Linked DNA regions of Homo sapiens: region 2 is linked to region 1. The links are contacts of gene promoters, found by promoter capture Hi-C in human tissues and cell types (Jung and others, 2019). All regions are on one chromosome and are shown on one strand. The core of a region is centred on a gene start or on the middle of the fragment in contact, and the rest is flanking DNA. Distances in the headings are between cores, read along the strand shown. Region 1 holds the start of KCNG3 (potassium voltage-gated channel modifier subfamily G member 3). Region 2 overlaps MTA3 (metastasis associated 1 family member 3).

Region 1 (5,630 bases), core at 1,100-3,599:
TGCAGCAGTGGTTGATGATATTAAAATCAAATAAAAATATTACTCTTGAAACAAATGAAATGATTTAAGCCTATCTCTCTAAGAAATCGCATGAAAATATACCTAGGAGGCACACATTGTATTGTCATCAAATTAATTTGTTTTCTAAGCTCAAATGTAATTTAAAATGAGATATTTCTTCAACTGGTTCAATCAACAGACAGTAGAAGGATTCTACGGAGAGAACACAGGAAATAAACCCTACAATAATGTTAGAGCAAACAATCGGCACTATAGTTCTGTCTTCTATTGCTTGTGATGCTTCTAGAAAGTATTTTTTAACGGCTTCCTGATGAATTGGCTCTTGGTATCAAGCCAGGCTCATCTCTGGCTCACATCTGCAAACTTTTCCCCATCCTCACGTCCTACAACAAATCCATCTTCAAGACCTGCAAAGTTCTTGGTCTCAGCGTTTCTCAGAACAGACCCTTCTTCATCTTCACAGACACGGGGTTGGGGATCCCATTCCTGGGTTGCGAAATGACCTTCTCCTTAGAATGACCCAAAGTGCAAAGGCATCTTCCTGAAATAAAGCTTTCATCAAGCCATTTCTGCTATGGAAACCTCCAGGGATTCCATTGCTTATGGGATCCAATTTAAATGCTGCAGTTGAGATCCCCATTGTTTCAGTGGGCAAGTGCATTATACTTCTTCACAGACTTTAAACCTCCACATTCGAGATTTTGCTACTAGGAATGTTTTGCCCTTTCTCTGTGCCAACTCATGGCCATCAGCACCTCCAATTCTGTCTTGAAACTCACTTTCTTACAGATATTTTTCTTGTTTAATATCTACTTAGTAGATACTAAACAGCAAAGTAGCAGTATCTACCCAGTAGACACTAAATAGCAAAATAGATACTGAATAGCAAACTATTTAGTAGATACTAAAGTAGCAAATAACTCCTGTTTTTGAGCTTTTAATCACATTTAGTGCTCTTAAGATAAATTATCCAAGTCTGGGGATAAACAACTCACAGAGATTTTCATTCTTTAAGAAGCCACCGAGAGTGATTTTACTTAAAAGACAGCACTCACATTTTCAGTTGTCTGCCTTTTCACTAGGAATCCACTTAAGAACCAGCGCAAAAGGACTCCGTTTGGCGACCTCTAGCGGGCACCGGACAATCCTACAAAATTACGAAAAGTAGAGGGCAATGAAAAACTCTTCCCTTTAACCAGCCAGGTTACCCTGTGGTCAGATGACCGCATCTCACCCTACCCCACCCTTATTTTTTTCTTCTAGTATTTGTTTTGCATCTAACACGGTTCGCCTTACAACTCACCTGTCTCGCCTCCGGCGGGCTGGGCTGCCGGTGTCGGGTGTCAGGTGAATGAATTGCTGGTAGCAGTTTAAAATAATCCCTGCCAAGTGGAACCCGCTTTCTGGGCACGGACAAGAGCGCGGGGTAGATCGCTCTGCGGAGCCTTCACGGGGCTCTTCCCGCTCGGAGGGCCGGTGCTGCAGCCGGGTCAGGGGTGCGCGGGGGAAATCAAGATATTTTGAAAAGGAGGATGCAGACGAAGACCAAGAGAAAGGCTGTTTTTGCCGGTGACAAGGCGTTCCTCCCCAGACTTTCATCCCACTCTAAGGGCAGCATCTCGAGAGGGTCCAGGCGCGCTACACGTTAGGCGCCTTCTCAGGACTCGCGCCCCAGAACGTGGGGGCCGGGGCCGGGTCGGGGACCGCTTCCCTCCGCGGGCTGGCAGGCGGCACCGAGGCTGGGGGATGGGGCGTGTAGCCGCCCTCTGAGCACGCGGTACGTGGGTCGCCCCGCGCGGCGGTAGGAAGAGCAAAGTCGGCAGGAAAAGCCGTGGCTGGGATGCCTTCCCTGAGAAATCCTTAGGGGCGATGTCAGAACCCGAGCTGGGCTCCGGACAGTTTCTGGAAAAAGCTCTCCAAACGCCGTCTGTCCCCGCACCCGAGTCCACACTGGGCTTTGAACCAGGGCTGTTAAAAGGGGCCCTGGGGACTGCCCAATTCATCCCGATGGCCCAGGGCAGGACGCGGGAGCAGGCATCCCGGCGCTGGGCTCCCCGCTCCCCCGCCCTGCGGACCCCTCCCCGCCACTACGGGCCGGAGCGGAGGGGGAGGACGGCGTCACGAGGCGGGGAGCCCGAGGTCCAGGGCGGGGCGCCCGGGAATCCCAGCCCGAGCAAGCCGGGGAGGTGCGGGCGCGGGCGGGAAGCGGAGGGCGGCGCGGAGGGAGGTGAGCGGCGCGCGCGGAGCCGGCGGGCGAGGAGGAGGACTGCACAGAGGCCCCGCCCCCGCCGCCGCGAGCCGGCTCTTCGCCGCCTCCGAACCCGCTCACTTTGCCTCTCGCCTCTGGACGGCGGCGGGGCGGCCGCCGGATTCGCGGCCGCAGGGAGCGCCGGAGACGGGGAGCTATTCCGCCCCGGCGGCTCCATTCGGCGCCCGCAGCCCTCAGGGGGTCGGCCCCGCGGCTTGGGAGAGGGCACCGCGGCCTCGGTGTGCGCAGCCCTCGGGCGCGAGGGTCGGCGGCGCGGACACAGCCGCGTTCCCAGCCGGTGGGGCTCAGCGCTGGCGCCGGCGAGGACTCCCCGGCCACCCGCAGGTACCGCCGGGCGGAGGGCGCGCTACTAGCAGCGCCGGAGATACTCGAGCCCAGGGACCCCCGGGCCAGCGGAGGGCAGGAGCGGAGCCCCGAGGGAGCGCGGGCCCCGACGGCGCGCTCCCCCGTCAGCCACGGGCAGGCAGGCCCCGCGTGGCGGCTTGGGGTGGGGGGCTGCAGCGGGGCCCTCGGGCCGAAAGTCCCCCGGGCGGCCAGCCATGACCTTCGGGCGCAGCGGGGCGGCCTCGGTGGTGCTGAACGTGGGCGGCGCCCGGTATTCGCTGTCCCGGGAGCTGCTGAAGGACTTCCCGCTGCGCCGCGTGAGCCGGCTGCACGGCTGCCGCTCCGAGCGCGACGTGCTCGAGGTGTGCGACGACTACGACCGCGAGCGCAACGAGTACTTCTTCGACCGGCACTCGGAGGCCTTCGGCTTCATCCTGCTCTACGTGCGCGGCCACGGCAAGCTGCGCTTCGCGCCGCGGATGTGCGAGCTCTCCTTCTACAACGAGATGATCTACTGGGGCCTGGAGGGCGCGCACCTCGAGTACTGCTGCCAGCGCCGCCTCGACGACCGCATGTCCGACACCTACACCTTCTACTCGGCCGACGAGCCGGGCGTGCTGGGCCGCGACGAGGCGCGCCCCGGCGGGGCCGAGGCGGCTCCCTCCAGGCGCTGGCTGGAGCGCATGCGGCGGACCTTCGAGGAGCCCACGTCGTCGCTGGCCGCGCAGATCCTGGCTAGCGTGTCGGTGGTGTTCGTGATCGTGTCCATGGTGGTGCTGTGCGCCAGCACGTTGCCCGACTGGCGCAACGCAGCCGCCGACAACCGCAGCCTGGATGACCGGAGCAGGTACTCCGCCGGCCCTGGGAGGGAGCCCTCCGGGTAGGACGCACTGCTTCTCTACCCGTCCCGTCCGTCCTGTCGCGTCTGTCCGTCCCGTCCATACGTCCCGTCTCCGTCCTGTCCGCCTCCGGGCGACCGAGCCAGCGGGGTGCGCGCCCAGCGAGGCCCAGGCGCGGCCAACTACGGGACCGGTCGGTCCCCACTCCTACCCCGTTGTCCGGGGCACCAGCGGGGTCTGGCCCTTACACTAGACGCACCTCTTGAGGGCGAAATCCTCAGGCATGGGGAGGGGCGTGTAGAGATAGACAAATGTCCCCTCTTTGTAGTTTACTTTTGCGCAGAGAGCAACCTGCTAATTACATTTTTCTGAACTTTTATTGTTAGGGTTCAACAATTAAGCCTTGAACTAAGCGCAGTTTGAATTATTTGCCAATTTTTGGTAGTGTTTGGAAAGATGGATTCTTGTTATGGTGAAATGTGCACTCTCCACACATTCTATACACTCTGCCCCCGGCATACTATGTGCTGTAATGGAATCGTTATATTATAAAGCAGGTTAATTTATCGATAGACTCTAAATAATGGATGTCTGTGCCCTTTTCTTCCCCCTTTTCCTACAAAGTATGGAGTTAGCAAACCTCTTGTCCACCGTTTGGTAGCAAAGATTCACACTGCGACTTTCAGAGGGTCTATGATATGGGAAGGGAAAAAACCATTACCTTGAGAACAAAGAAAAATCTAAACTGTCCTAAATCCAGAAAACAGTATTTGGGTAAATTTTTTTTTCTACTTTACTAGGATGAATGGGAAAATATTGCAGTCTTTTCTTAGACTGTCTTACCTTGAAGTGGTGATAGCACTTTCCTGTTTTTAGTACAAGTGAGCATATTCAGTGGGAGGAATAAGCAGACTAAGGATGGACTTTCAAAGAAGACAGCCTTTTGGGGCACAAAACCCAAACTGCATATTATAGTTTATCTGTTTGACACTGTCTTAAGATCCTCCTTCCATTCATTTTTTAAATTTAAGGTTGTGCCCTGTCATGTTTTACTGATAGGCATGTACATGTTCGGAACGGCGGCCTTGCTATTGCAGTGGATTACTTCTACATAATATTCTTCCTGTAGGGAGTAAGGATTTTTATATAAATCTAAGAAGTAAATAAAATTGTCTAGTGCCACGGAGTCTATTATTTCTTCTTGGCTTGAAATCGAAGATACATGCTTTGAAAGGAAATTCATTAGGAAACTCATTTTGTTTAGTGAATTAGGTTCTAACAGTTTTGAATTTACAGATAAGAGTTACTTATTTGGTTCTCCAACAATACAATGAAATTAATTTATTTACCTAAATACATAAATGCCTTTTTTTTTTAAGGAGGGCTTTAGGAAAATGGACTTGGAATTTTGATTCTCCAGTAACTGTAGAATTCTAAGGTTAGTGAAGGTTTGAGCTACATTAGCAAAGGAAACAGGAGAATTGAATTATTATTAGTGCAGATAATGAGGGAGTTGACTGAACCAGTATATGAGCAAAACCAGTAAAATACCTCAAATATAATCTTAGGGGGAGGGAGGGTGTTTTGGGAGAGGGAAAGGGCCATATGGAGATCATTAATGTAAAGCATTTGTAAAGAAATGAGAGAAATGCATAGTAATTTTAGGGAGAGAAACACAAGAAACAAAAAAGGGAAGACAGAGATGGAAAAGAGGGAGACTGCAAAAGAAGTGAAGGGAGAAAAGTAATGCTTATTTGTGTATATGTATTTTATGTATGTGTATAATTATTCAAGTCAGAGCTGTTTCCTAGATACTTAGATATTTCAGGCAAAAGCATGTTTTTCTTAGCTTAATGGCCCAGTTTTAGCTTCACTGTCTGAGTGTAGGTATATGAAAACCAATATCTGCAATCCCAAACAGATAAACTGCAGGATGGCCGAATGAGGATGCTGCTCATTACAGAGGAAGCTCCCCTCTGCCCTTCAACAGAGAGGGCCCTTAACCTGTCACTTTAAGTATAGTCGTTAAAACCCTGCTTGCTTGTGGTTGCTGAAATTAGTCTTTCTAAAACATCATTCTCATTATTTGACCATATTTTGCATCTGCCAAATAAAGCCAAAACTTCTTTCTTGGCCTTCAAGGCTCTTTACAGTTTGATGACAACCTGCCGATCTTG
Region 2 (5,630 bases), core at 1,159-3,658, 240 kb before region 1:
AATGTGGTCTTACTTTAAGAAACTGTCACAGCTACCCTAAGCTTCAGCAACCACCATCCTGATCAACAGTGGCCATCAACATTGAGGCAAGACCTTCCAGCAGCAAAAAGATTATGACTCATAGAAGGCTCAGATGATCATTAGCTTTTTTTTTTTTTTTAGCAATAAAGTATTTTTAAAATTAAGGTATATACATTGTTATTTTATACATAATGCTATTGCACACTTAATAGACTACAGTATAGTGTAAACATAATTATTGTCTGTTTGTTTTTGAGACAAGGTCTCACTCTTACTGGGGGACCTGCCCCGATAATCACGTAGGTTCTTTTCTATTTTCCTAAGTGTCGGCTGGCTTGAGAAATAAAGGGACAGTGTACAAAAGAGAGAAATTTTAAAGCTGGGCATCTGGGGGAGACATCACACGTTGGTAGGATCTGTGATGCCCCACAAGCCACAAAAACCAGCAAGTTTTTATTAGGGATTTTCAAAAGGGGAGGGAGTGTGCAAATAGGTGTGGGTGACAGACATCAAGTACTTAACAGGGTAATAGAATATCACAAGGCAAGTGGAGGCAGGGCGAGATCACAGGACCACAGGACCCAGGCGAAATTAAAATTGCTAATGAAGTTTCGGGCACCATTGTCATTGATAACATCTTATCAGGAGACAGGGTTTTGAGATCAACCGGTCTGACCAAAATTTATTAAGCAGGAATTTCCTCTTCCTAATAAGCCTTGGAGCGCTATGGGAGACTGGAGTTTATTTCACCCCTGCAGTCTCAACCATAAGAAACAGGTACGCCCTGGGGGGCCAGTTCAGAGAGCTACCCCTACGTGCGCATTCTCTTTCTCAGGGACGTTCCATGCTGAGAAAAAGAATTCAGCAATATTTCTCCCATTTGCTTTTGAAACAAGAGAAATATGGCTCTGTTCTGCCTGGCTCACCAGCAGTCAGAGTTTAAGGTTATCTCTCTTACTCCCTGAACAATTGCTGTTATCCTGTTTTTCAAGGTGCTCAGATTTCATATTGCACAAACACACATGCTGTACAATTTGTGCAGTTAATGCAATTATCACATAGTCCTGAGGCAACATACATCCTCCTCGGCTGACAGGATTAAGAGATTGAAGTAAAGACGGGCATAGGAAATCACAAGGGTATTGACTGGGGAAGTGGTAAGTGTCCATGAAATCTTTACAATTTATGTTTAGAGACTGCAGTAAAGACAGGCATAAGAAATTACAAAAGTATTCATTTGGGGAACTAATAAATGCCCATAAAATCTTCACAATCCACGTTCTTCTGCCATGGTTTCAGCCGGTCTCTCTGTTTGGGGTCCCTGACTTCCTGCAACACACTCTGTTGCCCAGCCTTGTCCAGTGGTGCAATCTTGGCTCACTGCAGCTCCGACCTCCCAGTCTCAATCCACCCTCCCACCTCAGCCTCCCGAGTAGCTGGGACTACAGGCACATGCCACCATGATCAGCTAATTTTTGTATTTTTTGTAGGGACAAGGTTTCAGCATGTTGCCAATGCTGATCTCAAACTCCTAGGCTCAAGCAATCTGCCTGCCTTGGCCTCCCAAAGTGTTGGGATTACAGATATGTGCCATCACTCCCAGCCAACATAACTTTATATGCACTGGGAAACCAGAAAACTCATGTGACTTGCTTTATTGTGATATTAGCTTTATTGCAGTGGTGTTGAACTGAACTCAATAGTATCTCTGAGGTATGCCTGTAAATGCTGTATTCAATATACAAATCTGGGCCTGTATTCATTCGGTGGAAAAAACACTAGATTTGGAGTTTAGATCCCATCTCTGCTACTTTCTAGCAATGCGACTTTGGGCAAATTCTTCAACCTTCTTGAGCTTCTATTTTTTCCATTCCTAAAATGTAGGTTATAACATTTACCTCATAAAGTATTTGGAAAACCAAGTGATATAAAGTACATGAAAAGAGGGAGGCAGAGCAAGATGATCAAATAGAAGCCTTCAGCAATTGTCCCTGCTGAAGGAACACCAAATTGAAGAACTAGCTACACAAAAAAGCACCTTCATAAGAACCAAAAATCAGGTAAGCGATCACAGTACCTGATTTTAACATCATATTAAGAAAACAGGCACTGAAGAGGGAAGGGAAGAGGGAGGGAGAACACAGTGATTGTGAAACTTTGCATTGGAACCCAGTGCTGCCCTGACACAGTGGAAAGCAATACGAGGCAGAACTCAGCCGGTGCCCACAGAAGGAGCATTTAGGCCAGCCTTAGCCAGAGGGGAATAGCTCATCCCAGCAGTTGGAACCTGAGTTCTGGCAAGCCCTTCCACTGTGGGTTAAAGTGCTCTGGGTTCCTAAATAAACTTGAAAGGCAGTCTAGGCCACAAGGACTGCAATTCCTAGGCAAATCCTGGTGCTGTGCTGGTCTTGGAGCCAATGGACTTGGGGAGCATATCACCTAGTGAGATACCAGCCAGGGCTGCTAAGGGAATGCTTACACCACACTTCCCCCAGTCTCAGGCAGCACAGCTCACAGCCCTTGCAGAGACTCCTTCCTCCTGCTTAGGAGAGAAAAGGATAGAGTAAAGAGGACTTTCTCTTGCAACTTTGATACTGGCTCAGCCACAGTAGGATGGGGCACCAGACACAGCTGTGAGGCCCCCATTCCAGGCCCTAACTCCCAGATGACATTTGAAAACACACTTCAAGCAGGAAGAAAGCCCACTGCCTTGAAGGGAAGGATCCAGTCCTGGCAGGATTCACCAGCTGCTGACTAAAAAGCCCTTGGGCCCTGAATAATCAGCAGTGGTATCCAGGCAGTACTTGTTGTGTGCCTTGGATGAGACTCAGAGACATGCTGGCTTCAGATGTGACCCAGCACATTCCCAGGTGGGTGGCTATGAGGAGAGACTCTTTCTGCTTGAGGAAAGGAGAGAGAAGAGTAAGAAGACTTTGTCTTACAACTTGGGTACCAGATTGGCCACTCTAGGGTAGAACACCAGGTAGATTCCTAAGGTTCCTGACTCCAGGCCCTGGCTCCCAGTTGGCATCTCTGGACCTACTTGGGGTCACAGTGAACTCACTGCCCTGAAGGGAAGATGCCTGGCTGGATATGCCACCTGCTGATTGGAGAGTCCTTGGACCTTGAGTGAACACAGGTGGTAGCCAGGCAGTGATCATCATAGGCCTTGGGTGAGCCCCAGTGCTGTGTTGGCTTCAGGTCTGACACAGAGCTGTCCCAGTGGTAGTCGCCACAGGGGTGCTTGTGTCATCATCCCTTCTCCAGCTCCAGGCAGCTCAGCACAGAGACATAGTGTCCATTTGTTTGAGTGAAAGTAAAAGAAGAGAACAAGAGTCTCCACCTAGTAATCCAGGGAATTCTCCCAGATCTTACCCAAGACAACCAAGGCAAGAGACACAGCATTACTGGGCTGGAGGTGCCCCCTAATGCAGGTATGGCTGCAGTGAACAAAGACTTAGATCACAACACCCAAATCCCTTCTAATAGTTGGAAAGCCTTCCCAAGAAGGATGCGGACAAACAAGCCCAAACTGTGAAGACTACAACAAATACCTAACTCTTCAATGCCCAGACACTGAAGAATATCCACAAACTTCAAGACCATCCATGAAAACATGACCTCACCAAACAAGCTAAATAAGACACCAGTGACCAATCCCAGAGAGATGGAGATATGTGTCCTTTCAGACAGAGAATTCAAAATAAGTGTTTTGAGGAAGCACAACAGAATTCAATAATAGAATAAAATTAAGAAAGATGCTGAAATAATTTAAAAGACCCAAGCAGAAATTCTGGAGCGAAAAATGCAATTGACATACTGAAAAATACATCAGAGTCTCTTAATGAATTGATCAAGCACAAGAAAGAATTAGTCAGCTTGAAGACAGGCTATTTGAAATACACAGTCAGAGGAGACAAGAGAATAAAGAATAAAAAGCAATGAAGCACACTTAAAAGATCTAGAAAATAGCTTCAAAGGGGCAAATCTAAAAGTTATTGTTCTTAAAGAGGAAGTAGAGGGACAGATTGTAGAAAGATTATTCAAAGGGATAACAGAAAACTTCTCAAACCTAGAGAAAGATATCAATATTTAAGTACAAGAAGGTTATAGGATATCAAGCACATTTAACCCAAAGAAGATTACCTCAAGACATTTAATAATCAAACTCCCAAAAGTCAAGGATTTTAAAAAGATCCTAAAAGTAGCAAGAGAAAAGGAACAAATATCATACAAAGGAGATCCAATATGTCTGGCAGCAGACTTCTTAGTGGAAACCTTACAGGCCAGAATAGAGTGTCACGATATATTTAAAGTGCTAAAGGAAAAAAACTTTTATCTTAGAATAGTATATCCAGCAAAAATATCCTTCAAGCATGAAGGAGTAATAAAGATTTTCCCAGACAAACAAAAGCTAAAAAATGTCATCAACACTATACCTGTCCTACAAGAAATGCTAAAGGGAGTTCTTCAATCTGAAAGAAAAAGACATTAATGAGCAATAAGAAATGATCTGAAGGTACAAAACTTACTGGTAATAGTAAGCACACAGAAAAACACAGAATATTATAACAGTGTAATTGTCTGTAAACTACTCATATCTTGACTAGAAAGACTAAAATATGAAGCTATCAAAAATAATAACTACAACAACTTTGCAAGAGATAAGCAGTATAAGATATAAATATAAACAACAAAAAGTTAAAAAGCGGGGGATGAAGTTAAAGTGTAGAGAGTTTCCACTAGTTTTCTCTTTGCCTATTTGTTTGTCTGTTTATGCAATCAGTGTCAACTTGGCATCAGTTTAAAATAACAGGTTATAAGATATTTTTTGCAAGCCTTATGGTAACCAGAAATCAAAAAACATACAACAGATACACAAAAAATAAAAGGCAGGAAATTAAAACATAACACCAGAGAAAATCAATTTCACTAAAAGGAAGACAGGAAGGAAGAAGGAAGAGAAGACCACAAAATAACGAGAAAACAAATTTTAAAAATGGCAGGATTAAGTCATTACTTATCAACAATAACACTGAATGTAAATGGACCAAACTCTCCAACCAAAAGACATAAAGTGGTTGAATGGATTAAAAAAAAAAAAAAAAAAAAAAGGCCCCGTGATCTGTTGCCTACAAGAAACACGCTTTACCTATAAAGACACACAGAGAAACAAAGTAAAGGGATGGAAAAAAAAAAAAATTCCATGCAAATGGAAACCAAAAAAGAGCAGGAGTAGCTATACTTATATCAGACAAAAAAGATTTAAAGACAAAAACTATAAAAAGAGACAAAGAAGGTCATTTTTATAATGATAAAGGGGTCAATTCAGTAAGAGGCAGTAACAATTACAAATATATATGCACCAAGCACTGGAGCACCCAGATACATAAAGCAAATATTATTTGCACTACAGAGAGAGAGAGAGACCACAAAACAATAATAGCTAGAGACTTCAACACCTCACTTTCAGCAATGAACACATCGTCCAGACAGAAAGTCAGTAAAGAAACCTAGGACTTAATCTGCACTGTAGACCAAACAAACCCAATAAATATTTACAGAACATTTTATCTGAAGGCTAAAGAATACATATTCTTCTCCTTAGC

The links. Contacts are between HindIII fragments. The study calls those that stand out against the background at their distance.
Region 2: a contact is called between a fragment that was not itself captured here and the fragment with the promoter of KCNG3 in region 1, in 1 of the 25 tissues and cell types used here (H1 embryonic stem cells).

What each region holds. Positions count from the first base shown.
Region 1 is chr2:42,490,701-42,496,330 of GRCh38, reverse strand. KCNG3 (potassium voltage-gated channel modifier subfamily G member 3) reads left to right here and starts at 2,349. Exons shown (of 2, transcript NM_133329.6): 1 at 2,349-3,494. The coding sequence starts at 2,830. It also overlaps a transcript of MTA3 not described here. RefSeq lists enhancers at 1,028-1,322, 2,647-3,404, 3,405-4,162 and silencers at 2,077-2,156, 2,247-2,296, 2,477-2,566. The HindIII fragment of the contact is 23,685 bases long and covers 118-5,630 here.
Region 2 is chr2:42,733,976-42,739,605 of GRCh38, reverse strand. All of the region lies in intron 16 of MTA3 (metastasis associated 1 family member 3), which reads right to left. Among named protein-coding and RNA genes, the nearest start is that of OXER1, 27 kb to the left of the region's middle. The HindIII fragment of the contact is 5,886 bases long and covers 1-5,351 here.